Regions from separate parts of the Homo sapiens genome. Here regions 2, 3, 4, 5, 6 and 7 are each linked to region 1. The links are contacts of gene promoters, found by promoter capture Hi-C in blood cells and fetal thymus (Javierre and others, 2016). All regions are on one chromosome and are shown on one strand. Each heading gives the region's core, a stretch centred on a gene start or on the middle of the fragment in contact. The rest is flanking DNA. Distances are from core to core; before and after follow the strand shown. Region 1 holds the start of TMEM263-DT (TMEM263 divergent transcript). Region 2 overlaps ABTB3 (ankyrin repeat and BTB domain containing 3). Region 3 overlaps TCP11L2 (t-complex 11 like 2). Region 4 overlaps TCP11L2 (t-complex 11 like 2). Region 5 overlaps POLR3B (RNA polymerase III subunit B). Region 6 overlaps POLR3B (RNA polymerase III subunit B). Region 7 overlaps POLR3B (RNA polymerase III subunit B).

Region 1 (4,036 bases), core at 539-3,038:
TTAAGAGATGGGATCTCCCCATGTTGCCCTTGCTGGTCTTAAACTCCTAGGCTCAAGTGATCTTCCCGACTCAGCCTCCCGAGGTGCTGGGATTAAAGGCGTGAGTCATCTGTATTTTATTTTAACAATCTAAGAAAGGGAGGTCACAGAATGGGAATCAAGAACTTAGAGGAGTTCAGACTATAAAACGAAGAAATACTACAAGTCATGTATTTGTTTGTTTTATAGGCTGAACTCCTACACCAGAAGTTTCTGATGAACTCATGACCTCCCAAAGGAGCTCTTTTAAATCTTAGTTAGTTTATGAAACAGATTCAACTGCTGCTTTGAGTTATGGCTTTTAATAACCGTAAAAATGCAAAATCTCCCAGGAGTGGCTACAATCTTGTCAGTCATTTGTACTTTAATAATAATTAGATTCTCTTGTAAAACGACGTGCAAAGGGAAGAAGAAACAAGACGTAATTGTGCACTTCATAATTTTACCTAGAGTTCAACCTTGAAAGGTCACATATTAAGGATAGAAGTTTGTGTAATAACGAGAAAACAGAGGATATCCGTTTCTTCACATACTGGATAAACAACAATCCACGGATCCTGCTAATCATCCAACCCATATGTTGAATTGACAAGAGTATTTAATTTCCTCTTTCTGCTTTGAGAAACTAAATATCTTGACAGTCTGAGCACAGTGGCTTAAGTGGCCTTAATTCTCTGATTTCATAAGTTAATGATTAGGTTGAAGCTATAAACTATAGTCCATTCCATTTAAGACCTGGATCAAAGTTAGCTTCATCCAGCATGTTTTAGCACGTCCTTTCTGAGCTATGTTGTCAGTAGTTACCATTCAGTTCCACCATCCTGAATATTCTGCAGTTGATAAACCATTTTGTGAATTTTTTTTTTTTGCTTTCTGTGTATGTTTTTGACTCGCGTGTTTTTGCTTCGCTAATCAGATTGCGAAAGGAAACATCTCACGTTTGCATAGGACTTCACAGTTCATAAAGACCTTTCCCACCCACCACAAAAAAAGTATGACAAGTTTCCCGTCATCTTCATTTTATAGGTGTGGAAAGGGAGTCAAAGAAAAGTTAATCGATACCATTTATCTAGTTAAGCAGGCTTTGAGCAGTTCATCTCCTCCCGTCCTCAAAACGACCTTCTGAGGTGTCTCCTGCAACCCTGCTCTGAAGCTCAGAGCGAGACGGCCTCACATCCCAGGGGGCTCAGCTCTGGCGGGGCCGCCACGCGCCTCCCCGTGCCTTTGGACGGGTGAGGAGAGCTGCTGCCCCGGCGGGGACCACGTGGAGGGGCCTGGTCAGCAAGTGGCAAGGACGCGGCGCAAAGCCAGGCTTTCTAATGTACAATCCGCGGCTCTTTCGATACTGAACACCCACCTCTTCAACAAATTCGAGCGCCTGGCAGGCCCTGCACCAAGCCTAGGGTGATGGCGACCCAGGCGGGTTTTTACTCTCAAGGAGCTCAATTCTAGGGCAGGGAGAAGTAAAATTAAAAAAAAAAAAATCATAACAAACTGAAAAACACATAAATAAGCCACGTCTCTCCTCACCCCTAGCACTTAATCACAAAGGCCTGTAGAGAGTCCCGACGAGAACTTCTGAGCAGGCCCCGCTGTCAGTCCCTGAGGACAGCATGCAAGGGAGGTTGACGTCCCTGGACGAAGAAAGTGCTGGAGAAACTGGCGACCGTCCCACCTTCCCTAAGGCGAAGGCTCTGAATTCCGAAGACCGTTACTCGGCGCGGAACGCGGGCACCGCCGACGTCAAAACACCGGGCCTGGGGGCCGCGGCCTACGCGTCTCCCGGGCTTCGCGCCCCTCGCCCGATTTGATTGGATGGTGGCGGGAAGAAGGCGGGGAGACCCCCGGAGGAGGGGCGCGCAGGCCGGCCGGGGGTTCCCACGGAGGCGTCCAGGGGGCGAAGGGGCGGGAGCGGGCCTCGGAGCGTCGCGCGTGCGCAATTGGGACACAGCCGGCTGGGGACTGCTGGGAGGGCCGGACCCTGCGAGAACGGGTGGGCGTGTGCCCGGTGGGCGCGGGAGGGGCCCGGGCTGCACGAGCGCGCGTGCGCGTCGGAACTGGAGCCGCGGGAGGAGGCGGGAGCTGAGGAGGCGGCGGAGGGGGCGGGTCGCGTCGGGCGCCACGTCCGCAGCCAGAGGCCTCCGCCTCCACCACCGCCGCCACAGTCTTCCAGCTCCACATCCTGAGAGGACGCCTCTGGAGCCGCGACTGCCCGGGGTTGTGCCGGCCGCCGCTGCCGCCCAGGCCGCCTCAGCTCTCCTCTGCGCCGGCCCGCTCACTCCGCCCGGCCCCAGCCCTAGCGCTGGCCGCGACCCCGGCGGTGAGTGAGTCGGGATGCGAGGGCAGGGGCGCAGTCCCGGCTTCCTGCCCTCCTCCGTCGCCCTCTGCCGTCGGCGCCCCTGCCCCTCACCTCCCAGTGCCCGGCCTGGCTGCCCAGCGGGGCCTTGGCGAGGCCCCAGCGGGAAAGGGGGAGGGGCGGGACGAAGTTGGGGGCGGATGGAGGTTCGCTTCTGGGGCTACTCCTCCTTATACGTCGCTGACTGCCCCGCCGCGATTGGAGCTTGCGCACCCCTGGAAAGCCTCCGCCTGACTTCTTAGCATCTGGGGGTTCGGGGTTGGGGGCGGAGGAGGAAGGTGAGGGGCATCAGCAGCCTGGGAGAGGGATGCAGCGGAGGGGCTTGGGTACCGGGCTTCCTCGCCCTGCCAACTCCTGACCTGTTGCTAAACCTCCCTTTTGGGTTCAGGCACACAAGACTTTTTCCCAGTGGACACCCCCATAGCTCTTCCTGGGTAGGAAGGCTGTATCTCCACGCCTAACCTAAAGTAAAAGTGGGAATGGAGAGGGTGCTGGCCGCGCCCAGGGGTGACAGGGAGGGCTGGAGCACCCATCCGTGCCGTCACTGCCTCCCAGTCTAAATAAAAACTGCCTGCTCTGCACACGCAGCTTCAAGACCGACCCCCCAGCTCCCACTTCCAATCAGATCGCCTGTCCTAAACCCTTCTTACATAGAAATTCTGGAGCCCTTCGGGAGTGGGGGGAGTGCTGGGTGTACAACGTGGAGCGGAGGGAGGAGGTGCCAAGCTCAGTGCTAGCCACGGCGCCTCCAGGGTCATTTTCTGCCTCCTGCCACGTCACTCACTGCTAAAGAAAAAAAAAAGATTTGCTAGTGCCTAAAGGGATCAGTAGGGAGAGAAGGGGCCACCCGGAAGGGTTTAGAAACACCTAGAGAAAAGGGAAGGGTTCTTAATTTGATTTTTGCGTCCTTGTGAACACTGTGCTAATTCCAAATGAAAATATTTGCTATATGTGATTATTTGCTGTATGCTATTGTTTAGCCTTTGAAACTTCTGCTGGTGTGAGTGCCCTCAGGGGTTCCCCAGGAATATCGATACAACACCAACAGGTAAACGCGCGCGCCCGTGTGTGTGTGTGTGTGTGTGTGTGTGTGTGTGTGTGTGTGTGTGTATGTGTGTGCGCGCTCGCGCCCATGCTTAACTTTTTAAAAAGAAAGGGAGAAGTAGCCTTTGATAAACCCATATGCATCCTGTTTTGCTTTTTCCACTTTCATTTCTTTAGTCTTTGTTAGAACAGATGTACCAGAAACCAAGTTCAGTAAAAATTTGTCCATTTATAGAAAGCATCGTTAGAAATTATAACGGTTGCTACATTGGACAAATATACAGATTTCTTTGTGTGTGCATGGGTTTGATTTTTTTTTTTTTAACTACAGGAAAATCTTTACCTTTGTTTCAGTTATTCGGTATTTGCTCTTTTTCTATTTCCGGAAGATATCTCACTGGATTATATATAAACATCTTGAGAATAAGACCTTTGTATGCTTGTTCACAAGGATGCCTCAGTGCCTAATAGAATGTTTGACACATAGTAGGAATGCAAATATCTGTTGAAATAATGTGAAGATGGTTTACTGGTTCTCTGGTTTAATAGAGTATTGTAATTCTGCTTAATGTTTCATTTAAGGATAACCCTTAAAAA
Region 2 (4,036 bases), core at 710-3,209, 660 kb after region 1:
AAAACAACCAACATAGCTGCAAGGAGCACTGGCTTTTCCTTGGCTCGGCAGTCCTGATTTCCAGAGTTCCTGATTCCCACGGCTGATCAATTTCTTCTAGGATGGGGCAGAAGGAGCACTCCTGAGCCATCAGCCCTCTCTTTCCACTTAACACACAGCAAAGGAGGCACTGGCTCAATCCCTAAGCTGAAGTCTTCCTCCCGCAGATCCTCCACGCTCCCCCTCCAAACCCTCTTTGGCTCACCTTGTTGCCTGAGTTGACAGATCTTAAAGCTAATCTCAGAGCTTCCCTGAGACAATGTGGTCTGGTGGAAAGCATGTCCCCCCAGAAACCCTCCCCTCCCCCTTGCAACATTGGCCTTAGAATCTGACAGATTTGGGTTCAAGTTCTGATACCACCGCTGCCATGGTGACTTGCTTTTGTGCTTGGGCAAGTGCCTTAACCTTTTTTCTCTCCCAATCTGCAGAACGGGAAAATAATTGCACCCATCTCATATAGTTGTCAGAAGGGATATAGAGAGTAGGTTTGGAACTCAGTTAATATTGGTCCCTCCACCCACACCCCAACCTCGTCATAGGTGAAATATCACTTTTTTACCATGTTCTATGCTGCCTGAAGACCTGCTCTCCCTGGCGGCAGGATATTGGCAGTATCAGACAGCAAAGAGATTGACGGGCTGAAATCATAACTCGGCAACCCTGGGAAACCTTTTCAGTTCAAAATTAGATGCCCGTGCAGTCTCAGTACTGTGTGTGTGTGTTTTTTTAATGTGAGTTTTATATTTATCTGAGGAAAGCAGACAATAGACACAGTTTTGGATCCAGAATCATTTTGGATCCTATAAATTTGGAATCTGTGGGGATTTTCCCTCCTGCTATGAATCCTTAAGCACCATGCAGACCCACGCAAGGGGTCCTCAGCATTGGGTTCTGGAGCATTCTCGGGTCCTCTCTAGCCCATCCCACGGATCTCAGCTCAGGCCTTCCTCCAGTGGATGCTTAGTGAACCAAACTGCTCTGAGTGAAGCAGGCATTGAGGTTACATGACCCCAGGAGTGTTTGGGAGAAAAGCTCCATGTGGGTGCTGATCTTGCAAGACCCTGGCCTTCAGCTGCCCTGTCTCTTCTCTCTTGGCCTGGAGTGTTTTTAGGCCTCCATCCTGAAAGACCAATCTCAGATTGTTCATTCATGATGCGTCCTGGGAAAGCTTTGTGCCCATATTTCGGTAGTGCAAGAGGGTCCTTGTCAACCAGGAAGCCAGCAGAAGAGTGAAATGAGAACAGGGTGGGGCCAGCTGTGATCAGATGGTGAAATTCCTCCATCAGATGAGTGATGGACTTCCCTGGCTTGAAAGCTGAAAGCAGACAGTCCCTTGCCTGGGGTTTGCCACCACTGAGAATCTCTCTTAAAAGTGTGGATGGCATGGTAGTGGCATCTCATGCTCTCTGACATCCTGTAGCTCCCAGAACCACCACCCTCTGCTAGGTAGAAGGAAGAAGGGGACAGGCCAGAAAGCTAGCTCATTGTAACTGCCATTACAGCTTCTTCAAAGCACCTGAGAGGCGATCAGAATCATCCATTACTTCCTTTCAGAGGAGAAGTGAAGGAGTCCTTCTTATGCACAAAGGACATAAAGTCACTGAGACATTTTCTCACTGCCTTCAAGGGTAAAATCTCCAAAACACGGACTTCCATTGTCCTGCCTTTGGGGGATTGCTTTGGTCTCTGTTCTTACAAACACAAGCAGGACAGATCCACGGCTTTGGTGAGAGGTGTTTGGAGCATCCAGCAGTGGAAAATCCCTGCCCTGTATCACCAGCTCTTCCCGAGGCATCTTCCAGGATGTCTTTTTGTCCATCTCTAGCCCATGTGCCCAGCCACAGATACGTCAAATTTGCTAGCCTAAGTATTGTGAAGGTCACATTTTGAAAATAACTTCAATTTGTTTATAGGTTGTCAGTACTCCTCATAAATATCCATCCGTCCACCCCGAGACCCGCCATTGGACGGCTCTGACTTTTGCTGTGTTGCATGGACATATTCCTGTAGTTCAGGTATTAACGTATTTCCCTATCCACATCTGACTTTTGATTTTACCTCTTCCATAACACACATCTATACCTCTCCCAGCATGCATATTCTCTAAGACATTCATATTGGTTAACTGCAATTCAATATAGTATATTCATATCATGTGAATACAAATATTATATGTAATGATCTATATGGCCAGGCTTTAACCAATATGAAATGATCACATATCCACACACAGCCTCACACACAGAGTGACAGACCCATGAAGTTCTTCCTGGTTGCTCTGGGGTGGGGCTTCAGCTATTTTTGTGGATTTGTTCATTTTGCTTGTCGCAACATGAACATGAGATTTGGTTGCTATTGATACCTTAGAACCTTCCCTTAGGTGTGACCCCTGGTGTTTGTGTAGAATCCATTGGTTTCCAGCCAGTGGGAAGAAGCATCCAAGACATCAAGGGAGTGTTTCCAAAAGACACTTGCTTGGATCCCACTTCTTGAGAATCAGGTCCAGGAGGTCTAGAGTAGGGCCTTGGCCATGTGTCTTCTGAAACAGCTCCAAGCACAGTGACATGTCCTCATTGGAGGTCCTTTGGGCATATAAATATGTATTGCTTGTACTTTTTCTGGCTGTTGTAGAGTTGGTGTTCAGTGAACAGCCATACGGTACATTCTAAATCATAAGCTTGATCTTTACTTCATCAGAAAAGAGAGATCAGCATCCAAGTTCATGACTGCACCTGGTCCTGTAGTGAGTGCTGAGGTTGGGCACATCAGGAACTCACCTCCTTTTGTGTGGTCCATGCCTCTTGATTCCATGCAGAGCAGGGACAGCTCTGCAATGCTGGAATTTCATGGGAATCCTTTGTTGTTTCCTGGGTCATGAGAATCCTTAGAACAGATCCCAAGTCATGTTTCAGGAGGCTCACAGTGTGACATGTCACACTGAGAGCTGGCTTCTGCCTATAGAACAGTATGCCCAGTCCACTCCTGGTAGAGGAAACTAAGAAAGAAGGGGTCGGTTGGTGGTCTGGTGGACACAGATGTCATTCCTTAACATGCAAGGACATTCCCGACCTTTAAATCAGGAATGGGAACAGTAAGCAGCCAAGCAAAGCCACACAGAAGTCAGGCAACCACCCTGCCGCAGGGCCAGCGATCACGGAGTGCCAAGTAGGTGGCTCCCCCATGGCCGTGCCCTCAGGGAGCCCTAGGTAGGCAGTAAAGATAGCAGATTTTTCCCCCATTTTCCATCAGCAGTGCTGACAGCACATTCACTGTGAATGAGACCAGGCATGGACAGCATCCCTACCTCTTTAGGAAGCCCAGCTATCTCAGGGGATGCACAGAATGAAGTCTTATGAAGCAAAACTTCTGGAAGCTCACTCTGCCACTTTATTAACTGATCTTGCTGTCCAGAAACCTTAGCATTTGCTAAACTGTCCTCAGGGCCATCCAGGTGGGGCCCCGGGAGACCCCCAAAGTCCTTCAGAACTCTTGAGAGTCTGTGGTTCTACGAGGCTACCCTAGTGCCCTCTGAGGCTTTGTGTAACCAGCCCAGGAGGGGAGTCTTCCAGCATTCCTGTGCCAAGAACCTTTAGCCCAGTGCTTCTAGAAATGTTTATATATGTATACATCTCCTGGAGATCTTGTTAAAATGCAGACTCTCATTCAGTAGACCTGGGTGGGGCCTGAGAGTCACCATTTCCCACAAGCTCCCAGGTGGTGCTGATGCTGTTATGCATGGAACACATTCCGAGTAGCCTAGCAGCAATGAGAGACTCTCAGTTCATCCTCCAGGGTACAGTTGCCCTCCAGCCTGTGCACGCTGTCACCAACCTAGAGGGAGGGAAGGAGTGCTGGCATCTCACCCATCCCAGCAGTCTTTCCTGACACCTGTGCACAGTGTATCTCCTCTCACCGTCTCAATGGCCGCTCTTCCTCTGCAGCTCCTCCTGGATGCTGGGGCCAAGGTGGAAGGCTCAGTGGAGCATGGCGAGGAGAA
Region 3 (4,036 bases), core at 1,130-3,629, 640 kb before region 1:
GCCAGTGTTCATGGCTTTGGGATTCTGGGATAAGGTGAGTGTCTCCACTCCACTCCTTGCCCTTCAGCCTGCACAAGTGGACTCTAGTGGTTTTCTGCTTGCAAAAGTGGTGGGCTCAGCAAGGATACATTTCTGTGGCAGGATTGAAGACGGTTGTTTAGGTGAGGCAAGGCGCAAATGACCTTAGACCTTTCACCCTTATTAGATCCCTCTCAGACTCATCCTTGTCCCCATCACCATCCAAGGAATTAAAAAAATTACTCTTTTTCTCTCAACAAAGGCTAGTGCCCCTTCTCCCGCTCTGCTAATCCTGAGCCTGCCTCTCCTTTCTTGTGTTTTCTCAACAATGCCTTATTCCCCCTTTTCCCATCTAGTAGCATTCAGTACACAGTTTTAGGTAGCTGGACTTGAGAACCACAAGAATAGGGCATTGTCTTTGTTTGGTTACTTTCCCCGGTGCTCAGTGCTCAAGTAGGCACTTGTTGAATATTAATGGAATCATTGAAGAAACTGCAGGCATTTTCAGACATACTATACATAGTTGTGGTTTCCCATTCTGGCCGCTTTAAAAGCACTGCATCCCTCATTGCATGGGCTGGTTTAGGTTTAAAAGGATTCAGTGAACTCTTCCTCTCATTATTGTCCATCCAGGATTTGAGGTGCCTTTCTCCTTGAGCCCGGGTTTCCCCTTCAGTGTCAGGTGATACCATATTCACATCAAGGTCAGCTCCCTCACGGGCCTGGCTGGTGCTCCTGGGACCAAGGCCTGGTCATCCTGTGTGCCTGTGATCTGCTTTCTGGGTAGTGTCCAAACCTGACGGCCCTTCCCTGGAAGGATTCTCATGTCCCAGAAACACTGGACATAGACACCAAGGGACTGGTTTTATCATGTAGTAAATCCCCTTATCCCTCTGAGTCTGTTCCCCCACTTGTGAGTCAGGATCCTACATGCTTGTGCACTCATAGGGTTGTGATGGGTACTTTGTAAATTGTCAAATCCTAACCATATATCAGGTCTTAATCTTCATATCACAGCAGTTCATGTGGAAATGGAGGGGGAAGAAGCTAAAGACTTGCCAGCCAGAGGTTTCATGCGGTCTTCCCCTTTCCCCAGGAGGTTCACAGAAAGCGTAAAGAGGCTGATTTCACAGCTATTTTATCTGAAACAAAGCAATAGGAGCAATAATAGCAGCTAACATTTGAGTACTGTGCCAAGCTCTTTAAGATGAATTCTATTCAATCTTCTGGCAACCCAATGAGAGGTTAGTCTTTCAGTCCAGTTTCACTATGAGGTAGGTAGTTAAGTGACCTTCCCAAGGTCTCATGGCAAAAGGCAGAACAGAACGAGAGATCTGACCCAAGTCCCACACTCCCGCCTTCTCATGTTTCAGCAACCCAGGAGGAGAGAGCATGTGTCCTGCATCTTTTTAAAAAGGACCTGCCATTACTTAGAGCTTCACATTTATAGTGGGTGTGTCCTGAGTAAGCTCACACCTATGGCTGTGGAATCCCTTTTCAGAAAGGCAATCTCGATGACCTAGTGATCTGGCCTAGTCCGGCCAAGGTGCTGGGGGAAGGATGAGGTCATCTGGGGGCCTTTCCAACACAGTGACACTTGTGGGGACAGTTGTCTACACTGGAAGAAGCATTGGTGGTGCCTGTGGAAGTACCACAGAACATTGACGCAGGGTCTGTTTGTCTGTGCAGGTGCTACCTTTTTACCCACACTTAAGTGACGCAAAATGCCCTTCAATGGCGAGAAGCAGTGTGTGGGAGAGGACCAGCCAAGCGATTCTGATTCTTCCCGGTTTTCCGAAAGCATGGCTTCGCTCAGTGACTATGAATGCTCCAGGCAGAGCTTTGCAAGTGACTCCTCCAGCAAATCCAGCTCTCCTGCTTGTGAGCCGATGGGGGAGCAGGGGTTGTGGGTGGCAGGGGTACTTCTAGATATGTGTTGGATTTGAAAACTCAGAAACGCCTGAGAGCAACAGACTTCCCCTCCTTTCTAGATGCACCAGAATAGCACTGCAGAGGCACTGCAGCTTTCCGGGACACATTCTCAGAAATAGCCACTAAAGTTTACAACCTGCTGATTTTTATTTTGATCACTGCTTCCGATCTGTTTCGGTCTGATGATAAGTCAGGACTTCAACCCCATCTGTCTTTTCTCCCAAACAGCAGAAAGCCATTCCTTGAGATTACTTCTTAGATCTCCACTGAAGGATAAATTCAAATTGGTCTTTTCTGATTATTCCTGATTTACATTGAAGGAAACTGGCCTTCATTGAAAGGTCAGGAAGGAAGTGAAATAATCTAAAGGGTTTCATGTTGATTTCAAAAAAATATTGTGCAAATCACCCCAGGAAGGTACCCACAAGGAGAATTACTACATTAGGGGTGTGAGAAAGAGTTAAAAGAGAGGCCACAGCAAAAGGAGATATCTTTTTCCCGTTTTTGCATGTAGAAACTAGAGATGGGTAAAGCAGATGTGTTTGCCTTTTTTTTTTTAATTGGCACTTTATTTAGTAAATATAACAGCTTTAACTGGCAAAGCAAATGCAGGAAAAAGCAACTAATGTTTAATATGCTGAACTGTCCACTTCTTACAAATTGCTTCATTTGTATTTTAAATTTTTACATTCTCATTTTTTAAAACTTAGAAGATACATAAGAATAGAGAAAAGAAAACATTGCCTATGATATCACTCAAAGACGACAGCTGGCAGTGCTTTGCCGTATCTTTATCCTTCACATAGACATATGTGTGTATATGTGTGTGGACTCTTCTTGCTTAGTATTATAACTAAAACATTTACTCATGATTACATGTTTTTGAAACATTGGTTTTATGAATACTTATTACTTTACCAAGTGAATGTACGGTAAAATTAACCATTGATTAATCACTGGACATTTAGTTTCCATTTTTTTTTTTTTTTTTTTTTGCTGTTATAAATAGTGCTTTATGAACATCTTACTGCATGAAGCCTTTCTGGAAAGACTTTTGGATATCACTGGATTATTGGACCAAAGTATATAGACATTTTTAAGGAGAATCTTGAGTCAGACCTGGCAAAAGAAATTAACAGCAGCCACCCCAGGTTTCTGTGCCTTTTCTCACTCTTTATACTGTATGTGGTGTTGTTGCATCTGACACCAGGGTACCTAGGCATCCTGAAGAAGGGTTTTACCAATTCTGTGTATCACCTTTCTCTTCTTCCTCCTCTTTCCCTGATCCTCCTCCTCATCTTCTCCTAAAAATTAGGTAGCCAGGCGCAGTGGCTCACACCTGTAATCCCAGCACTTTGAGAGGCTGAGGCAGGCAAATCACCTGAGGTCAGGAGTTCAAGACCACCTGGCCAACATGGTGAAACCCCATCTCTACTAAAAATACAAAAATTAGCTGAGCATGGTGGCATGCACCTGTAGTCCCAGCTACTTGGGAGGCTGAGGCAGGAGAATCGCTTGAACCTGGGAGGTGGAGGTTGTAGTGAGTCAAGATTGCACCACTGCACTCCAGCCTGGGAGACAGAGCAAGACTCTGTCTTGGGAAAAAAAAATAAATTAGGTAGTAAAGTATTACCTGTCACTGCTGTTGTTTGACACATGATTTTAATTAAAAGAAGCTAAGATTTCCAACAGTGATTTTTAAAAGACATGATTTATTAGAATAGTTTCTTAGTATAATCTTTAGAAATAACTCAGATTCTTCATTTACTATTTCCTACTGAGAAGTAAAATATCTGGCTTCTCAGATTTATTCTATTTTACTTTTAATTATGTAAATTTATTGAGTTCTTACTATCTTCTTCTTTACTTAAATTATCTCATTCGGTCACCTCAGGCCAACCCTGTGAGGAGGAAGGCTATGCCTCAGTGAAATCCAATGATAAATACCAATTGGCAAAACTCAGAGTGAACCTAAGTGTTTATACTATACTGCCTATACATTTAAAAATTACAGTTTTTGGCTGGGTGCGGTGGCTTACACCTGTAATCCCAGCACTTTGGCCAAGGCAGGCAGATCATCTGAGGT
Region 4 (4,036 bases), core at 1,011-3,510, 620 kb before region 1:
AAGCCTTTAGGGAATACCCAGTGCTGCTGAAATGTTATTATAAAGTATACAGAAAGTGGTTACTAAGAAGACAGGCTTTCGGGTCAGATGGACCAGGGTTTAAATCCCAGCTCTGCTACTGACTTATTATGAACACTTGAATATGTTCTCAAATTACTATGAGCCTGACTTCCTCACTTGTAAGAAGGGAATAATAATTGTATTAATATCTACCTTGGAGTTGTGAGAACTTAAGATGATTCAGGTACAGATGTGTGGCACGTAATATGTACTCAATGAATGCTAGCTATTAATAACTAGTCATTAAATCATCCTCTTTATAATTGTATCTGGTTGTTTATCTGGTTGTTTCATTGTTTAAATTTTTTTCCTGTGTTAGGAAATCAATACAATCAATTCTCAATTATCCTCATTACGGATGGGGCAATAGCATTCATAGTATTAAAAAAAGGGATAGTACTAAATAATAGACCAAGATGTCATTTATATTGGGTTTGATGATGCATCTTGAAAACTAGAAGGAGTTTTTCCCTCTTCATTGTGAGTAGAAGGCATGGCTTATGCTAAGACAACTTTTTTTGAAGAGCTGAAAGAGGATTTATTGATTAATTGATTTTTGCTTTTTTTCCCTTTTTCAACTTTTATTTTAGGTGTAGGGGCACATGTACAGGTTTTTTACGTGGGTAAATTGAGGGTCACTGGGGTTTGGTGTACCAGTGATTTCATCACCCAGGTAGTGAGCATAGTTAGTTTTTCAACCCTCACCCTCCTCCAGACCTCCACCTTTAAGTGTAGGAGCCAGTATCTGTTGTTCCCCTTTATGTCCATGTTTACTCAGTGTTTAGTTCCCACTTATAAGCGAGAACATGTGGTATTTGGTTTTCTGTTTCTGAATTAATTTGCTTAGGATAATGGTCTCCAGTTTTACCCATGTTGCTGCAAAGAACATGATCTTATTCTTTTTACAGCTGTATAGTATTCCATGGTGTACATATACCATATTTTCTTTATCCAGTCCACCATTGATGGTCATCTAGGTTGATTCCATGTCTTTGCTGTTGTGAATAGTGCTGCAGTGAATATATGAGTACATGTGTCTTTTTGATAGAGTGATTTCTATTCCTTTGGGAATAAACCCAGTAATGGGATTGCTCAGTTGAATGGTAGTTCTGTTTTAAGTTATTTTAGAAATCTCCAAACTGCTTTCCACAGTGGCTGAACTAATTTACATTCCCACCAGCAGTGTATAAGTGCTCTCTTTTCTCTACAACCTTGCCAGAATCTGTTATTTTCTGACTTTTTAATAATAGCCATTCAGGCTGGGCACGGTGGCTCACACCTGTAATCCCAGCATTCTAGGAGGCCGAGGCAGCCAGATCACTTGAGGTCAGGAGTTCAAGACTAGTCTGCCCAAGATGGCGAAACCCCGTCTCTACAAAAAATACAAAAAATAATTAGCCGAGCATGGTGGCGCATGCCTGTAGTCCCAGCTACTCAGGAAGCTAAGGCAGGAGAATCACTTGAACCTGGGAGGCAGAGGTTGCAGTGAGCCGAGATTGTGCCACTGCACTCCAGCCTGGGTGACGGAGTGAGACTCCGTCTCAAAAGAAAAGAAAAGAAAAAAATAGCCATTCAGACTGGTATGAGATGGTATCTCTCTGTGGTTTTGATTTGCATTTCTCTAATGATTAGTGATGTTGAGCATTTCTTCAGATGCTTGTTGGCTACATGTATGTCTTCTTTTGAGAAGTATCTGTTCATGTCCTTTGCCCATTTTTTAATGAGGTCGTTTTTTGCTTGTCGAGTGTTTAAGTTCCTTGTAGATTCTAGATATTAGACCTTTGTTGAATGCATAGTTTGCAAATATTTTCTCCCATTCTATAGGCTGTTTACTCTGTGGATAATTTCTTTTGCTGTGCATAAGCTCTTTAGTTTAATTAGGTCCCACTTGTCTATTTTTGCTTTTGTTGCATTTGCTTTTGGGTAATTCATCACGAAATGTTTGCCAAGGCCTATGTCCATAATGGTGTTTCCTGGGTCTTCCTTTAGGGTTTTTAAAGGTCTTATAGTTAAGTCTTTAATCCATCTTGAGTTGATTTTTGTATCTGGTGAAAGGAAGGAGTCCAGTATCAATTTTCTGCATATGGCTAGCCAGTTTCCCTTTAGCCTAAGAACTCACTGATTAAAAGCAAGAAAAATCTAGGGCAGTACATTGTAGTGGATAAAAAGTCGGAAGGTAAAAATTTTATTACAATCAGTCTATCCTTGGGTTACAGAATTCCAACGTCAGGTCCAGTGTGGGCTTATAACAAATTCCAGTCAAGGCAGAATGCCAAGAACTTATTTCTTATTGCTGTTAATGATGATAAACATGATAACCTATTTTTCTCTTTTCCTTCTTCCATGTGCCTGATAATCTGCTAAGAGCTAAATATTAGACACATAGAAGTTCAGTGGTAGAGCCAGGATTTGAACCCAGCTCCACATAACACCATAGCTTATGTTCCAACTCGCTCCGTTATACTGCTTCCTATCATTGAGCCCTTCTCTCATCCTTTAATTCCCATTTTGCAGAGTTATCTTAAGGACCTTTTCTGGATAGTGAGATAAAATTTTCAGTCATCTTTCCCTAATAGTGTGGACCCAACAAATGCCTTTTCTAATTACCTATTTTTCCTTACCTACTAAATAACTCACTCTTTAATTACCTTTACAACTTTCTGGACTCTATATATTGGAGATTATTTATCAGTTACTTGAATAATGTGAAGGAGCTTATTATCCTTGGTCATGATCAGCCAAAAGTTCTAGGTATTTGACCTCTGAATATCTTCATTTGTTGTTTTTGATTGGTGTTATAGATTTACTGCTCAGGCATAGATGAATTGAGTCTACTTCATTTATCAAGTGCATTTTTTAAAATGTGTGAATGAATCCACTCAGACCAACAAGTTTAAGAAGTAAATTGGTGTTTTCTGTCCCTTTCTGATAGCCCTGCAATATAAATGGGGTTGCAGGTGCATTTTTGGGGACCACATTTTCTGCTTATGCTTTTCTATTTAAACACTGCTACACAATTTAATGATTTTAAGCATTTAGAAGTCTGCTACATCAGAAGGTTGGTGGTTGGGAGGAGTTACTATTTTATGAGTTCATTCTAATAGAGGTTATTATTGTCTGTATAAGAGAAATTTGGTAGACATCTAAAACAAGTCTGTATATTAAAAATAATAACTTGATGAACAAAAACTTTCCCTGGTGGAATTTCATTTTATGTTTCATAGGACCTTTAACTTGAAGGAAGTCCTGAATTCTATTGGTATTCAGACTTGTGTTGAGGTTAACAAGACCCTGATGGAAAGAGGTTTACCCACTTTAAATGCTGAGATTCAAGCTAATCTTATAGGTCAATTTTCAAGCATTGAAGAGGAGGACAATCCTATCTGGTCCTTGATTGGTGAGTCCTTTTATTGATTTCTGCTTCAATTCCAATTTGCTTTAACTTGCTGATTTTGACTAACATTAAGTCAGTCAAATTTTGATCTTAAACACATTACCCACTTTTGGAGGATAAATATTGAAAATATCAAGAAATATTAATGTTTTCAAAGGCCTAGGACTCATTGCTGCTTCTGTGTGTCATGGAGTTGGGGGATGTTTCAGGGCCTATTATCTATTCAGCCAATAGATTTTATGACAAGAATAACAGAGTGCTGGAGTAATGTTAAAATCCTAGATCAATGCAGTAATTCAAACCAGCTGGCAGTATGTTCACAGATAGTAGATATGAGTTCTGCTGTGAGCAGCTCTGAAGGAACTTGGTCAGGCTTAAAGAGACAAAGACTAAAAATGTGTGGATCCGGGAGACATAGTGTGTAGGCTTCTTTTTGTAATGGTCAGCCAGGAAATTGACTGTCTCAAAGTCAAGCTGTGTTGGTGAGTTGGGAAAATGGATAATGTATCAGTTAGGACTTTTTCTGCTACCTGTGACAAGAATCTAAACTTCTAAACTAGCTTAAACAAAATGATCATTTAT
Region 5 (4,036 bases), core at 425-2,924, 580 kb before region 1:
GAAGTTACTTATTTGCCTGGTACAAGTTTGGAAATGATAGCATCCACTTGCGTTTTTGCAATCTGCCCTTCCTGATTAGGGAAATATATTGACTCTCCTTTAGAAATGGACAAAACCCACAATATTGTGTGGTCAATAATGGTACTAGACTTTAAACTCAGTCCACATAATTTCTGTTCAAGTGTTTTTCCCCCTCTCAAAAGTGCTAAGAGCACTTTGAACAAACATCCATTTGTTCAATAAATATATACCAACTGCCTATCACTTCTTATGTATGATGCTGAGTACTTAGGTGAGTAAAAGATATACAAAATACAGTTCCTATTGGCTACCTTCATTCACAGCTATCAGGGAAGACAGGCATATGTAATTATGGCACCATTTGGTAAGGGGTCTAGAAGTCCAGATTTTTATGGAAACATGCAGGTTTAACAAATCCTCCTATACTTCCCTCAAAGGAAGGGGTAATTTGTATTGTTTCTCTCCTTAGTCTTCACTTAGAAAAATAAGTAAGATATTAAAATGTTCATCTTGGTTTTAGCAGGACTGTTTATCAGTGTTTTTTTTGTTTTATTGTTTTTTTTTTTTTTTTTTGAGACAGAGTCTTACTCTGTTACCCAGGCTGGAGTGCAGTGGCATGATGTTGGCTCACTGCAACCTCTGCCTCCCGGGTTCAAGTAGTTCTCTAGCCTCAGCCTCCTGAGTAGCTGGGATTATAGGCGTGTGCCACCACACTCAGCTAATTTTTGTATTTTTTGTAGAGATGGGGTTTTGCCATGTTGGTCAGGCTAGTCTTGAACTCCTGACCTCAGGTGATCCGCCCGCCTTGGACTCTCAGAGTGCTGGGATTACAGGCGTGAGCCACCGCGCCTGGCCTATCAGTGTTAAGGTGAGAACTTCTTTCTTTCTTGTATATGGACCATACTTGTGTCCAGTTAAATTTTGGACCATAGCTAAATTATGAACTAGATTGACTATTGTGAAGGAAAGGCAAGAGAGACTGGAGGAAAACATAAATTCATAAGATTGAGGGTTTAAATCCTGGTTTAAAGAGGGAGCATGAGTGGGCGAAGGACATGAACAGACACTTCTCAAAAGAAGACATTTATGCAGCCAAAAAACACATGAAAAAATGCTCACCATCACTGGCTATCAGAGAAATGCAAATCAAAACCACAATGAGATACCATCTCACATGAGTTAGAATGGCAATCATTAAAAAGTCAGGAAACAACAGGTGCTGGAGAGGATGTGGAGAAATAGGAACACATTTACTCTGTTGGTGGGACTGTAAACTAGTTCAATCATTGTGGAAGTCAGTGTGGCGATTCCTCAGGGATCTAGAACTAGAAATACCATTTGACCCAGCCATCCCATTACTGGGTATATACCCAAAGGACTATAAATCATGCTGCTATAAAGACACATGCACACGTATGTTTATTGTGGCACTATTTACAATAGCAAAGACTTGGAACCAACCCAAATGTCCAACAATGATAGACTGGATTAAGAAAATGTGGCACATATACACCATGGAATACTATGCAGCCATAAAAAATGATGAGTTCATGTCCTTTGTAGGGACATGGATGAAAATGGAAATCATCATTCTCAGTAAACTATCGCAAGAACAAAAAACCAAACACCGTATATTCTCACTCATAGGTGGGAATTGAACAATGAGAACACATGGACACACGAAGGGGAACATCATACTCTGGGAACTGTTGTGGGGTTGGGGGAGGGGGGTGGGATAGCTTTAGGAGATATACCTAATGCTAAATGACGAGTTAATGGGTGCAGCACACCAGCATGGCACATGTATACATATGTAACTAACCTGCACGTTGTGCACATGTACCCTAAAACTTAAAGTATAATAATAATAAAATAAAATAAAATAAAAAGAGGGGGCATGTAACTAGCATTTGTTGAATACCTGCTATGTGCCATACTATGATAGGCAATGTTGTTTGTTAGCTCCGCATTCATAAAAAAGACCTCTAGTCATTAGAATGCTTATATGTGCTATGCATTACCTAAATTACATATATAATCTCATTTATTTTTTGGAGTAAAAAGATTTTAGTTTAATCCAAATTATATTTGTACTTGGTTAGAAATCAAACAGTACATAAAAACATTTGATTCAAAACAGTAACCTCCCTCCTTCTCTCCCCTTCCTCACCTTTCGTCCCATTCCCAACTTCATAACTATTTCTGTTATTTTTTTCTGGGGGTTATTACATCCATAACTTTATTTTGTGTGTGTGTGTTTTTTTTTTTTTTTTTTTTTTTGAGATGGAATTCACTCTGTTGCCCAGGCTGGAGTACAGTGGCATGATCTCAGCTCACTGCAACCTCCGCCCCCCAGGTTCAAGTGATTCACCCACCTCAACCTCCCGAGTAGCTGGGATTACAGGTGCCCGCCACCACGCCTGGCTAATTTTTTTTTTATTTTTAGTAGGGACAGGGTTTCACCACGTTGGCCAGGCTGGTCATGAACTCCTGACCTCATGTGATCCACTCGCCTCGGTCTCCCAAAGTGCAGAGATTACAAGCACGAACTACCATGCGTGGCCAATATCCATAACTTTAAATGCGATGCTTTGACCTCTATTTCTTAATACATTAACTGTAGACATTATTTTTTCCCTCCTGATATACGGGATGTGGCTTAGCTTACCTGTGTCACCCACTTTGCTTCTCCCTTCGTCTTCCAATTTTTCCTTCTTGTTTTTAATTATCTTTTTGGTTACTGTAGTAACTGAAATATTCTTATATCTTCATGTCATATTACATAACTTTAGTCAGTATGTTCATTTCCCTTGGTATAAAATGAGAATATTCTTATTTCTATCTTCCCATTACGATTTCCCTTTTAACGTGAGTTATTTAGAAGACTTAAGATTTCCCAATTGGTGCTTTATGTCAATTTTTGGAACTTTGTAGAGACCTGTTTCTATAAATGTTTCATGTTTATTTGGAAACAAGAGGTATTCTCCAGTTGTTTTGTGCCATTGTCTGTGTATTTCCTTCAGATCAGACTTGTTAATTGTGTTGTTTAGACGTTTTGTATCAGCATTGCTTTTTGATTTGTTTGTTCTATCAATTACTACAATAGGTATGTTAAAATCTCCCACTATGATGGTGGATTTTTCCATTTTCCTTATGGTTTTGTGTATTTTTGCTTTTTTGAAGCTATGATATTAGGTGCATAGAAGTTTAGAATTGTTAAATCTTGCTAGTAAACTGAACCTTTGATGATTGTACATTTATCTTCTTTATCTCTTATAATATTCTTTGCCTTGAATCTTATTTTGTCTGCTCTTAGCATAGCTACATTTGCTTTCTTTTGGTTATATTTCTGGCATATCATTAAAAAAATTATTGTCTGTTTAATCTTTTATATGGGCTGGGCACAGTGGCTCACACCTGTAATCCCAGAACTTTGGGAGGCTGAGGCGGGTGGATCACCTGAGGTTGGGAGTTCGAGACCAGCCTGGCCAACATAGTGAAACCTCACCTCTACTAAAAATACAAAAATTAACTGGGTGTGGTGGTACATATCTGTAATCCCAGCTACTTGAGAGACTGAGGCATGAGAATTGCTTGAACCCGGAAGGCGGAGGTTGCAGTGAGCCGAGATTGTGCCACTGTACTCCAGCCTGGGCAACAGAGCGAGACTCCATCTCAAAAAAAAAAAATCTCTTAAATGTCCTTATGTTTTGAGTTTAGTTGAAGTAAACTGCATATGGTTAGATTTTTTAAAAAATTGTCTTGAGAATGTAGTTTATTTTTATTTGTTTTATATACATACATATATGCATATATATTGGAGTGTATATCTGTCAACTTATTCTATATTTTAAAACTGTCTAGCTTTTCATGTTTCAGGTTTTTTTCCATTTTTCTTTTTGGATAATGGAAGATTTTTTTTTTCTCACCCTTCCCCAACTGATTTAAAAGTCATATACAGTATTTCTGATTGTTTATGTTTACCTTAGAAATTTTGAAATGCATACTTAACAAA
Region 6 (4,036 bases), core at 847-3,346, 560 kb before region 1:
AAGCAAAACAAAAAAACAAGCAGAAAAACTCTCTCCCCCCCCAGTTTTTTTTTAAGTTTCATATTTTGGAGCATTTTGGATTTTCAGATTAGGGAAAATTAACCTGTATTATTTAAACACCAAAGAAAGGAATTCTGTTCTAATATTTGTGACTGGCTACTTGCAGACCAAAGAGAAAGTGTAGATGATTTTACATATGTGCCATCACCATCAAAGTAAATGCAACTCAGTGTGCTTGAGCTAAGAATAATCTAGTTTTGTTTGTTTAAAAATTAGAACTGGTAATTTTTTTTAGGATTGCTATCTTTTAATCCATGAAAGGCTTAGTGTTTTAATGAAATCGTGTAATTTTTAAATAGTGGAGCTTATTTCTAGTATCCATTTGATAAATGTTTCCATATCAAATTGGAGGTTAAAAAAAAAGACTGCTAAAACTATAGAAAAAGGTCTTGCATCCTGAGAACTTGTTTGCAAAAAAAAAAAAAAGAACAAAATAAATTGTTTTAAATTCAGATAGTGAATTTAATTCCAAAAGTTGGTATATTAGTTATCTGTGCTGTGTAACAGATTATAGCATAGCTTCTATTCATTGGGAATTTAAGACTTGCTTAGCTGGGTGGTTCTGGCTCAGAGTCTTTCATGTGCCAGGATGTCAGCCACAAGCTGAGCATAGTAGCATGTGCCTGTAGTCCCAGTTACTCAGGAGGCTGAGGTGGGAGGTTCACTTAAGCCCAGGAGCCTGAGGCTGTAGAGCACTATGATTGCACCTGTGAATACCCACTGCCTTCAGCCAGGGCAACATAAGCAAGACCGCTTCACCAAAGAGAACAAAAGAAAAGATAATCAGCCAGGGCTGCAGTTATCTGAAGGCTGAACTGAAGCAGCCTGGAGAATCTACTTCCAGGATAACTCACCCCCATGGCAGTTGACAGAAAACTGCAGGTGCTCATTGGCTGTTGGTAAGAGGACATAGTTTCTCACCACCGGACCTTGCCACAGACTGCTTGTGTGTTTCCATGACATGGTAGCTATCTTCCCCCAGAGAGAGCACTTTCAGACAGAGCAAGCAGGCAGCTATAGTGCCTTTTATGACCAGTCCTTCAAAGTCATCATACGTGCCACCTTCACATTTTTTTCTATAGAGGTGAGGCATTGAGCTTAGCCTGCACTTGGGGTGGGGAATTAGTCTCCACCTTTTGAAGGGAGTATCAAAGAATCTATGAAGGTTTTTAAAACCACCAATGTTGGCCTAAAAGGGACATGGGATCTATTCAGATTTCCCCCAAATCTTCAAAACTTTCTATAAGTTTACATCGGATCCTAAAGTATCCAAATCAAATTTTTAGAATGCAGACCACTGAAGGTCAAATGTAGAATCATAGCATTTTGAGCTGGAAGGGATCTGGTTTTTCATTTATGCAAATGAGAAAACAAAGGCGAAGAGGTTGCATGACAGTAGTAGTTGTAATGTCTGTGTGTGTTGTTGGTATTATATTAGCACAAACACCTCAGATCTCTGGACTTTTAGATAGATGCCCCTGTTGTACTGAGGATAATGTCCTTGATTTTCTGCATTGGAACTTGGGATTTGATTTTCCCTTCCTTTCTTTTTTGTGTGGAGAACTGGGAACTAGGGCATCAACACTAACTACACAATTATCCTCTGGTTCTGTCTTCTCTACAGCTGAAGGAAGAATTTTAATGCAAACATAACTTTTCCCCTCACTTCTAAGAAGCTGACTATTACTCTTCCAGGAGAGATTTAGTGAGATTATGCTGTGTTCCTTGATATGGCAAAATTCCAGGCAAATGTGTGAAGGAGTGAGCCCTAGTACCATATGGAATCTACAAAGACTTGCGTTGCTGCTGCCACCTTGAAACACTTAAGTGGGTTTCTGAAACCTCTTAAGTGTATTCCTACTTTTTTTATTTTCTTATTTTTTTTCCCGAGACGGAGTTTTGCTCTCGTTGCCCAGGCTGGAGTGCAATGGCACAATTTCAGCTCACTGCAACCTCCACCGCCCGGGTTCAAGCGATTCTCCTGCCTCAGCCTCCCGAGTAGCTGGGATTACAGGCACATGCCAACACATCTGGCTAATTTTTGTATTTTTAGTAGAGATGAGGTTTCGCCACGTTGGCCCAGCTGGTCTTGAACTCCCAACCTCAGGTGATCCACCTGCCTCGGCCTCCCAAAGTGCTAGGATTACAGGTGTGAACCACCATGCCTGGCCCATGTGTTCCTACTTTTTAAGTCTCCTTTGAAACCTGCATGAAGTTTGGTTTGATATCTTTAGAATAGTGAGGTAAAACGTGTTTTAGGAAAAATTCTTTTCCTTTTTAGGAAAAATATGAGTGATTTGACAGTTCTCAGAAAAATTAATTTTGTGACAAGACTGATTGGGGTTCTGCTTATTTTCAGCAATGCATCTTTTCTGATTCACTGCCTTTTGGCTGTTTGTCTTTACAGTTTGCCTTTGTAGTCATGACCAGTTGTCTTTACCATACCTCCCAGCCTCCTTTTTTCGTGATGAAACTCTTAGAATATTTAAAAATTTTAGCAGATAGTACACATGCAAAAAATGTTTGAGAATGTTTGTTTTCCACTTTCTAATCAAAATATCTGTTTCAGGTTTTTCTGCAGCTTGGGCAAGGCTGCCAATGCCAGATGGCACCATTTCTGAGAGAAGAGCTAGCTTTTGCTTAGAAGTAATACCCACAAACAATGCCAAATTAGCATAAGCAAATGTCAGTGAGTTAACACAAAGCCAACACTCTTTCTATCTTTTCTTTCCTTCCTAGGCCATGGGTGTTGAGAGTGACCAGGAAATTGTGCAGATGATTGGAACAGAGGAGCACGTGATGGCTGCATTTGGGCCCAGTCTGGAAGAGTGCCAGAAAGCTCAGATTTTCACACAGATGCAGGTGTGTCTTTTCATGTTGTCCTTTGCTATGAAATGGAATTGGAGACTTAATGCTGCTCATTGATAAAGCTCATCGGATGTGATGGCTTTGGGCTCATAGATTTGGGAAAGGTATTGGGGAGATATGGGAGGAGTGAAGTTTCTTTAACTCACTTTCGTCAGGTTTGGAGGAAGGAGTTTGCCCAGACAAATTAGGAGCCTATGGTGCCCGACTTAGAATAGGGGATATATGGCGAAGAGGTGTTTGTTTTGATATAATAGGAAGTACTGTTTTTTTTTCCTTATTTGCCTGAGTGATAATATACTTTTTAAACTATGGCAACTCTCGTGTACAGGTTTTGTGTGTGTGTGTGTGTGTGTGTGTGTGTGTGTGTGTGTATGTGTGCATGCATTTCTCTTTAATATCTTTTTTTATTCCCTACTTCAGTTGCTTTAGGCATCCAGTTGTATGTGGTTTCTATTTCTTTTCCTGAATTCCCAGTGCTGCTTTGGACAGCAAGGAAAACCCAGGATCAGTCCCTTTTACTGCTGCAGAGCCTTCATTGACCTGCTCAGGCACTCCTGGTTGGACCCTGGGAATTTTAGGGCAAGACTCAAAGATGAAGACTGAGAAATACACACACACACACACACACACACACACACACACACACCCCATAGTAAAAATAATTGCACTTCCCTTCCCACATGGAGGGAGCCCCAGCAGCCATACTTAGGATTTTAGTCCCATATTTGCAAGTGCTTTCCTAAGTATAAATCAAAGTTAACATCCCTCATAGCCATCCTGGGAGGTGGGAATTCCCCACTATAGAATCACAACAGACAGTTCTTACCTATCCACGTGTACATTGTCTATTCTGTGGGTTATGTATGACATATGTAAACTCTGGGCTGCTTTTTTCTCTTCACCCAGGATGCTTGTAGAGAAAGCATTTCCCACTTATATCTGTTAGTGTGTATTCTGAAATCAAATCAGTATTGATATTTTTGTAGACTACACTAGATATTTAGGAAGATCGAAATAGGTCAGTATATATATATAATTCCAAAGCACAAATCAGTAAGGATTATTCTCATCACCGTCTTCCTCTTTTTCTACAGTTAATTAATAGTTG
Region 7 (4,036 bases), core at 513-3,012, 540 kb before region 1:
TTTTGAATGCAGTCTATTGATTTATTGTCATAGTGATAAATTTTATAAAAGAGATTTCATTGGGATTTTACTAAATGATTAAGGTAAGTAAAGAAGAAATTTTAAAATAGTATGTATCATCTGTGGAAAAGCCTATAAATACTCCTTGGAATTGGCAGAAGCTCAGGCTACATTCTCAAAATTTGTCTTTTTAGATGTAGGATCTACTTCAGTTTTTTTGTCTCTCCAAACAAACCAGTGCAATTATTTTATCAGTTCTGAGTCAACTTACTATGATTGAGCCAGATTCATTCATATGGGTTTCAGTGTTTCTGCTAGAGAAGATTGACTAGAACATTTGCTACAAATTCATTCATCTGTTCATTCATTCGGCAGTTATTTGTTGCATGCCAGACAGCATGTTAGTACAATTCTTGTTATCACTGCATGACAAACAATTCTAAAACTTAGTGGCTTAATGTAACTGTTCATTGTGTATCTCATGATTCTGTGGTTTGACCGGGTTTAACTTAAGGTGGAGGAGGGAGTTCTCATTTCAGGTCTCTTACAAAGTTGCAGACAGATAGCAGCTGAGGTTTGAGTCATCTGGAAGCTCACCTGGGCTGGACATTCAAGATGGCATCTTCACTCATATCTCTGGCCCCTCCTTGATTTTCCATTTCATTGGGATTTTACTAAATGAAATGTAGCCTCTCTCTCTGTGCAACAGAGCGTTCTGGACTTTAGTGTCTCAGGACTCTAAGAGAAAGGAAGAGGAAACTGCCAGTTGACTTAAAGATTAATTCTGGAATTGGCTGGTATCATTTCAGCTGTATTCTCTTGGTTAAATTAATCATAGGCCAATCCCAAGGGAGTGATAGATTCCACCTTTAATGAAGGAATGGCATGAAGTTTATATGAAGGGAAGAAGTTGATGTAGTCATCTTTGACACAGAGGTACTCACAGGTTACTGAGGACAATGATGAAAAGTCATCATCTCAGCTCAGGAAATTTCCAGACTAGTTGAATTTATTTGAATGGAGAGAATCATAACAATTCAGTATTTTCTTAGTTGAATGTTATAGTATTGATACTTTTCTTGAGGTACGTTAAATTTTAATGTCCATTTTCTCAAAATTTTTCTCCAATTTCTGACTTACAGGTTAAGGAATTCAATTTCCGAGCCAAATGTATCTATACTGCAGTGATGGTGCGAAGAGTTATTCTGGCCCAAGGAGATAATAAAGTTGACGACAGAGATTATTATGGTAACAAGCGACTGGAATTGGCAGGACAGGTGATTTAATATTTTATGTCAGAAATCTTGTTTTCCTTAATGAAAATTAATTTGGTTTTCATTTCACATAAGAAGAAACATTTGAATGAAATATAGTTTGCAGGTTTGAAGTATAAACATTTCATACCTGACTTATTATCTCCTAGAATTCCTTTAACTATAAAAACATTAATTCTTTTTTTTTTGTTTTCTTTTGAGACGGAGTTTTGCTCTGGTTGCCCAGGCTGGAGTGCAATGGCACGATCTCAGCTCACTGCAACCTTGGCATCCTGGGTTCAAGCGATTCTCCTGCCTCAGCCTCCCGAGTAGCTGTGATTACAGGCATGTGCCACCGTGCCCGGCTAATTTTGTATTTTTGGTAGAGATGGGGTTTCTCCATGTTGGTCAGGCTGGTCTCCAACTCCCGACCTCAGGTGATCTGCCCATCTCAGCCTCCCAAAGTGCTGGGATTACAGGCGTGAGCCACCATGCCCAGCCTAATTCTTTAAATGTTAATAGTACGTGACCTATATCTTTTGTTGGGATGTTTACCCTCATTCTGTATAATATACAAAGTGAAGTATGACTTTAAGTAATATCATTTATTCAGTTAACAAACATTTACTAAACACCTATTATGTTCTAGGCATACTCCTAAGTACTAGTTATATAAGAGGGAGTAAGACAGACAAAAGCCCCTTTTCTCTTACTCCTTGTAGTCTCAGTGGAAGGGAGAGAGACAATAATCAAGGAAACAATCCGCTGATTGTTTTGGTGACATGGTAGAGGTAGGTTAGTGAGGATATCTCTAATCTCATTTTAAGTCTTAGCTGATAAATGACATTTTATTTCAAGACTGTGTATCTCTTTCAACTGGCTAGCAAGCATCCAAAAATCTTTGGCTAGCAAGTAACTAAAAAGCTCCAGTTAATTTTTTAGTTTAGATATTGTATTTTTCTGTTTTAGAAATTTCATTTAGGTATTTTTTCATAGCTTCTATTTCTCTACAGAGATTTTGTATTTGTTCATCCATCACAAGCCTATTTTTATTTACATCCTTGTATTTTAATAGCTACTTTAAAACCTTTGCTGCTAATTTCAACGTCTCAGTCACTTGTGGGTCATTCTCTTCATTAGCTTTTCTCTTGAATGTGGCTCATGTTTTTCTGTTTCTTCTTATGTCTGATAATTTTGGATTGCAACCTGATAGACATTGTGGATAAGTTGTGGAGGCTCTGAATTCTGCTGTATTCCTCTAAAGAGTGTCCCAGTTTTTTGTTTTTTTTTTAAGACCCTCTGAACTTGGCTGAAAACCTCTGAATCCTGCCTTCCTGCAGCAAACATCAGCTGAAATATTCATTTAGTTCTTTCAGTTGTAGCTTGGGTCAATTGGGGATTTAGATAGAGTTTAAATGTGGAATTTGGAATTTCCTCACTTACATTCTAGCTGTTGAGGTAGCTCAGATCTTTTTCTTTTGGTTCTTCAATCCAGTAAGACTGCAACTTACTTTCTCATGTTTTAGCCTTCTGATTTGACAGGGATCACTGCCTGCCCTTAGGTGAAAAGCCATAAAACAGGAAACTCACTCAGAACCATTTGCTTTTGATAAGCATTCCTTTTCCTCAGTTTCTTTCTGCTTCCTGATACTCTTTCAATGAATTTCAAGTAGTTGTTTTATCTAATATTTCATCCAGTTTATACAGTTGAGCCACATTATGCATATTTGCAAATTTGTCTACTTGCTAAAATGTATTTTCAACCTCCAAATCTGTACTCAGCGGCATTTTATTGGCCATTTGCAGGCATATGCAGAACTGCAAAAAATTTGAGTCACTACACATTCCTACTTGCAGTCTAACAAGGCAATGTTCTGCCTTCTTGTTTCAGCTCTCATACTGTAAACAAGTATCCTTTTTACTACTTTGATTTGCATTTCCCTAAAAACTGATTATGTTGAACATCTTTTTATGTGCCTATTGGTCATTTATACACCTTCTTTGAAGAAATGTCTATTCAAGTCCTTTGCCCATTTAAAAATTTTTTTTCTTGTTGTTGTTGAGTTGTAGGAGTTCTTGGTATATTCTGGATACATACATATATCAGATATATGATTTGCAATTATTTTCTCCCATTCTATAGGTTGTTTTTTCACTTTTTTGACAGTGTCTTTTGATGTACAACAGTTCTTAATTTTGAAAGAGTCCTATTTGTCTATTATTTTCTCCTGTTGCCAGTGCTTTTGGTGTCATATTCATGAATTATAACCAAATTCAGTGTCTTGATTTCCCCAATGTTTTCTTCTAAAAGTTTTATAGTTTTAGCTCTTAAGTTTAGGCCTTTAGAGTGAGAATTTTGTTAGATGTACAATTCTAGATTGATATTTATTATGTGTCACCATTTGGTGGTGGAGATATTTATTATCTCCCATCATTTACTAGTTTATTTGTTTGTTTTTATTTTTTTACTTTAGGCAAATATTTCACCTCCTTCTGCCTCAGGTTCCCTGTCTGTAAAAATGGGGTTCATGCCATGTACCTTATAGGATTGTTATGGGATTAGATGAATGATGTATACCGTACCTTGAATGGCACAGAACCATTGTAGTTCCTTCACAGGTGTTCTGTCTTATCTCTCTAGGTACTTTTAAGATATTCTTTTGGCTTTTGTTATTCTGCAGTTTTCTTTATGATATGCCTTGGTGTGAATTTCTTTTATTTTTTTTTTGCTTGGTATGTGCGTGTTCCTGCTACCCAAGGATTAATGTCTTTAATCAGTTCAG

Evidence for each region. The method cuts DNA at HindIII sites, captures the fragments that hold promoters and counts their contacts. A CHiCAGO score of 5 or more calls a contact.
Region 2: a fragment that was not itself captured here is called in contact with the fragment with the promoter of TMEM263-DT in region 1 in 1 of 17 cell types (fetal thymus); the score reaches 5.5 in fetal thymus.
Region 3: a fragment that was not itself captured here is called in contact with the fragment with the promoter of TMEM263-DT in region 1 in 8 of 17 cell types (naive CD4 T cells, fetal thymus, naive CD8 T cells and 5 more); the score reaches 11.0 in naive CD4 T cells.
Region 4: a fragment that was not itself captured here is called in contact with the fragment with the promoter of TMEM263-DT in region 1 in 12 of 17 cell types (naive CD4 T cells, non-activated CD4 T cells, fetal thymus and 9 more); the score reaches 11.2 in naive CD4 T cells.
Region 5: a contact is called between a fragment that was not itself captured here and the fragment with the promoter of TMEM263-DT in region 1, in 16 of 17 cell types (fetal thymus, naive CD8 T cells, naive CD4 T cells and 13 more). The highest score is 26.7, in fetal thymus.
Region 6: a contact is called between a fragment that was not itself captured here and the fragment with the promoter of TMEM263-DT in region 1, in 14 of 17 cell types (naive CD8 T cells, fetal thymus, total CD4 T cells and 11 more). The highest score is 11.9, in naive CD8 T cells.
Region 7: a contact is called between a fragment that was not itself captured here and the fragment with the promoter of TMEM263-DT in region 1, in 14 of 17 cell types (naive CD8 T cells, M2 macrophages, total CD4 T cells and 11 more). The highest score is 11.0, in naive CD8 T cells.

What each region holds. Positions count from the first base shown.
Region 1 is chr12:106,953,707-106,957,742 of GRCh38, forward strand. It overlaps TMEM263-DT (TMEM263 divergent transcript), which reads right to left and starts at 1,789. Exons shown (of 1, transcript NR_185933.1): 1 at 1-1,789. TMEM263 (transmembrane protein 263) reads left to right here and starts at 2,201. Exons shown (of 4, transcript NM_152261.4): 1 at 2,201-2,359; 2 at 3,376-3,443. RefSeq lists a silencer at 1,829-2,588 and enhancers at 1,865-2,159, 3,089-3,148. The HindIII fragment of the contact is 6,686 bases long and covers 1-4,036 here.
Region 2 is chr12:107,613,109-107,617,144 of GRCh38, forward strand. ABTB3 (ankyrin repeat and BTB domain containing 3) reads left to right here. Exons shown (of 17, transcript NM_001018072.2): 7 at 1,953-2,054; 8 at 3,981-4,036. Among named protein-coding and RNA genes, the nearest start is that of PWP1, 71 kb to the right of the region's middle. The HindIII fragment of the contact is 1,509 bases long and covers 1,206-2,714 here.
Region 3 is chr12:106,309,334-106,313,369 of GRCh38, forward strand. It overlaps TCP11L2 (t-complex 11 like 2), which reads left to right. Exons shown (of 10, transcript NM_152772.3): 2 at 1,708-1,899. The coding sequence starts at 1,743. Among named protein-coding and RNA genes, the nearest start is that of TCP11L2, 8.6 kb to the left of the region's middle. The HindIII fragment of the contact is 7,236 bases long and covers 1-4,036 here.
Region 4 is chr12:106,337,542-106,341,577 of GRCh38, forward strand. It overlaps TCP11L2 (t-complex 11 like 2), which reads left to right. Exons shown (of 10, transcript NM_152772.3): 9 at 3,285-3,457. Among named protein-coding and RNA genes, the nearest start is that of POLR3B, 18 kb to the right of the region's middle. The HindIII fragment of the contact is 4,948 bases long and covers 1-4,036 here.
Region 5 is chr12:106,370,056-106,374,091 of GRCh38, forward strand. All of the region lies in intron 6 of POLR3B (RNA polymerase III subunit B), which reads left to right. Among named protein-coding and RNA genes, the nearest start is that of POLR3B, 14 kb to the left of the region's middle. The HindIII fragment of the contact is 4,830 bases long and covers 1-4,036 here.
Region 6 is chr12:106,390,232-106,394,267 of GRCh38, forward strand. POLR3B (RNA polymerase III subunit B) reads left to right here. Exons shown (of 28, transcript NM_018082.6): 10 at 2,800-2,922. Among named protein-coding and RNA genes, the nearest start is that of POLR3B, 35 kb to the left of the region's middle. The HindIII fragment of the contact is 6,020 bases long and covers 1-4,036 here.
Region 7 is chr12:106,409,684-106,413,719 of GRCh38, forward strand. POLR3B (RNA polymerase III subunit B) reads left to right here. Exons shown (of 28, transcript NM_018082.6): 12 at 1,143-1,277. Among named protein-coding and RNA genes, the nearest start is that of POLR3B, 54 kb to the left of the region's middle. The HindIII fragment of the contact is 6,628 bases long and covers 1-4,036 here.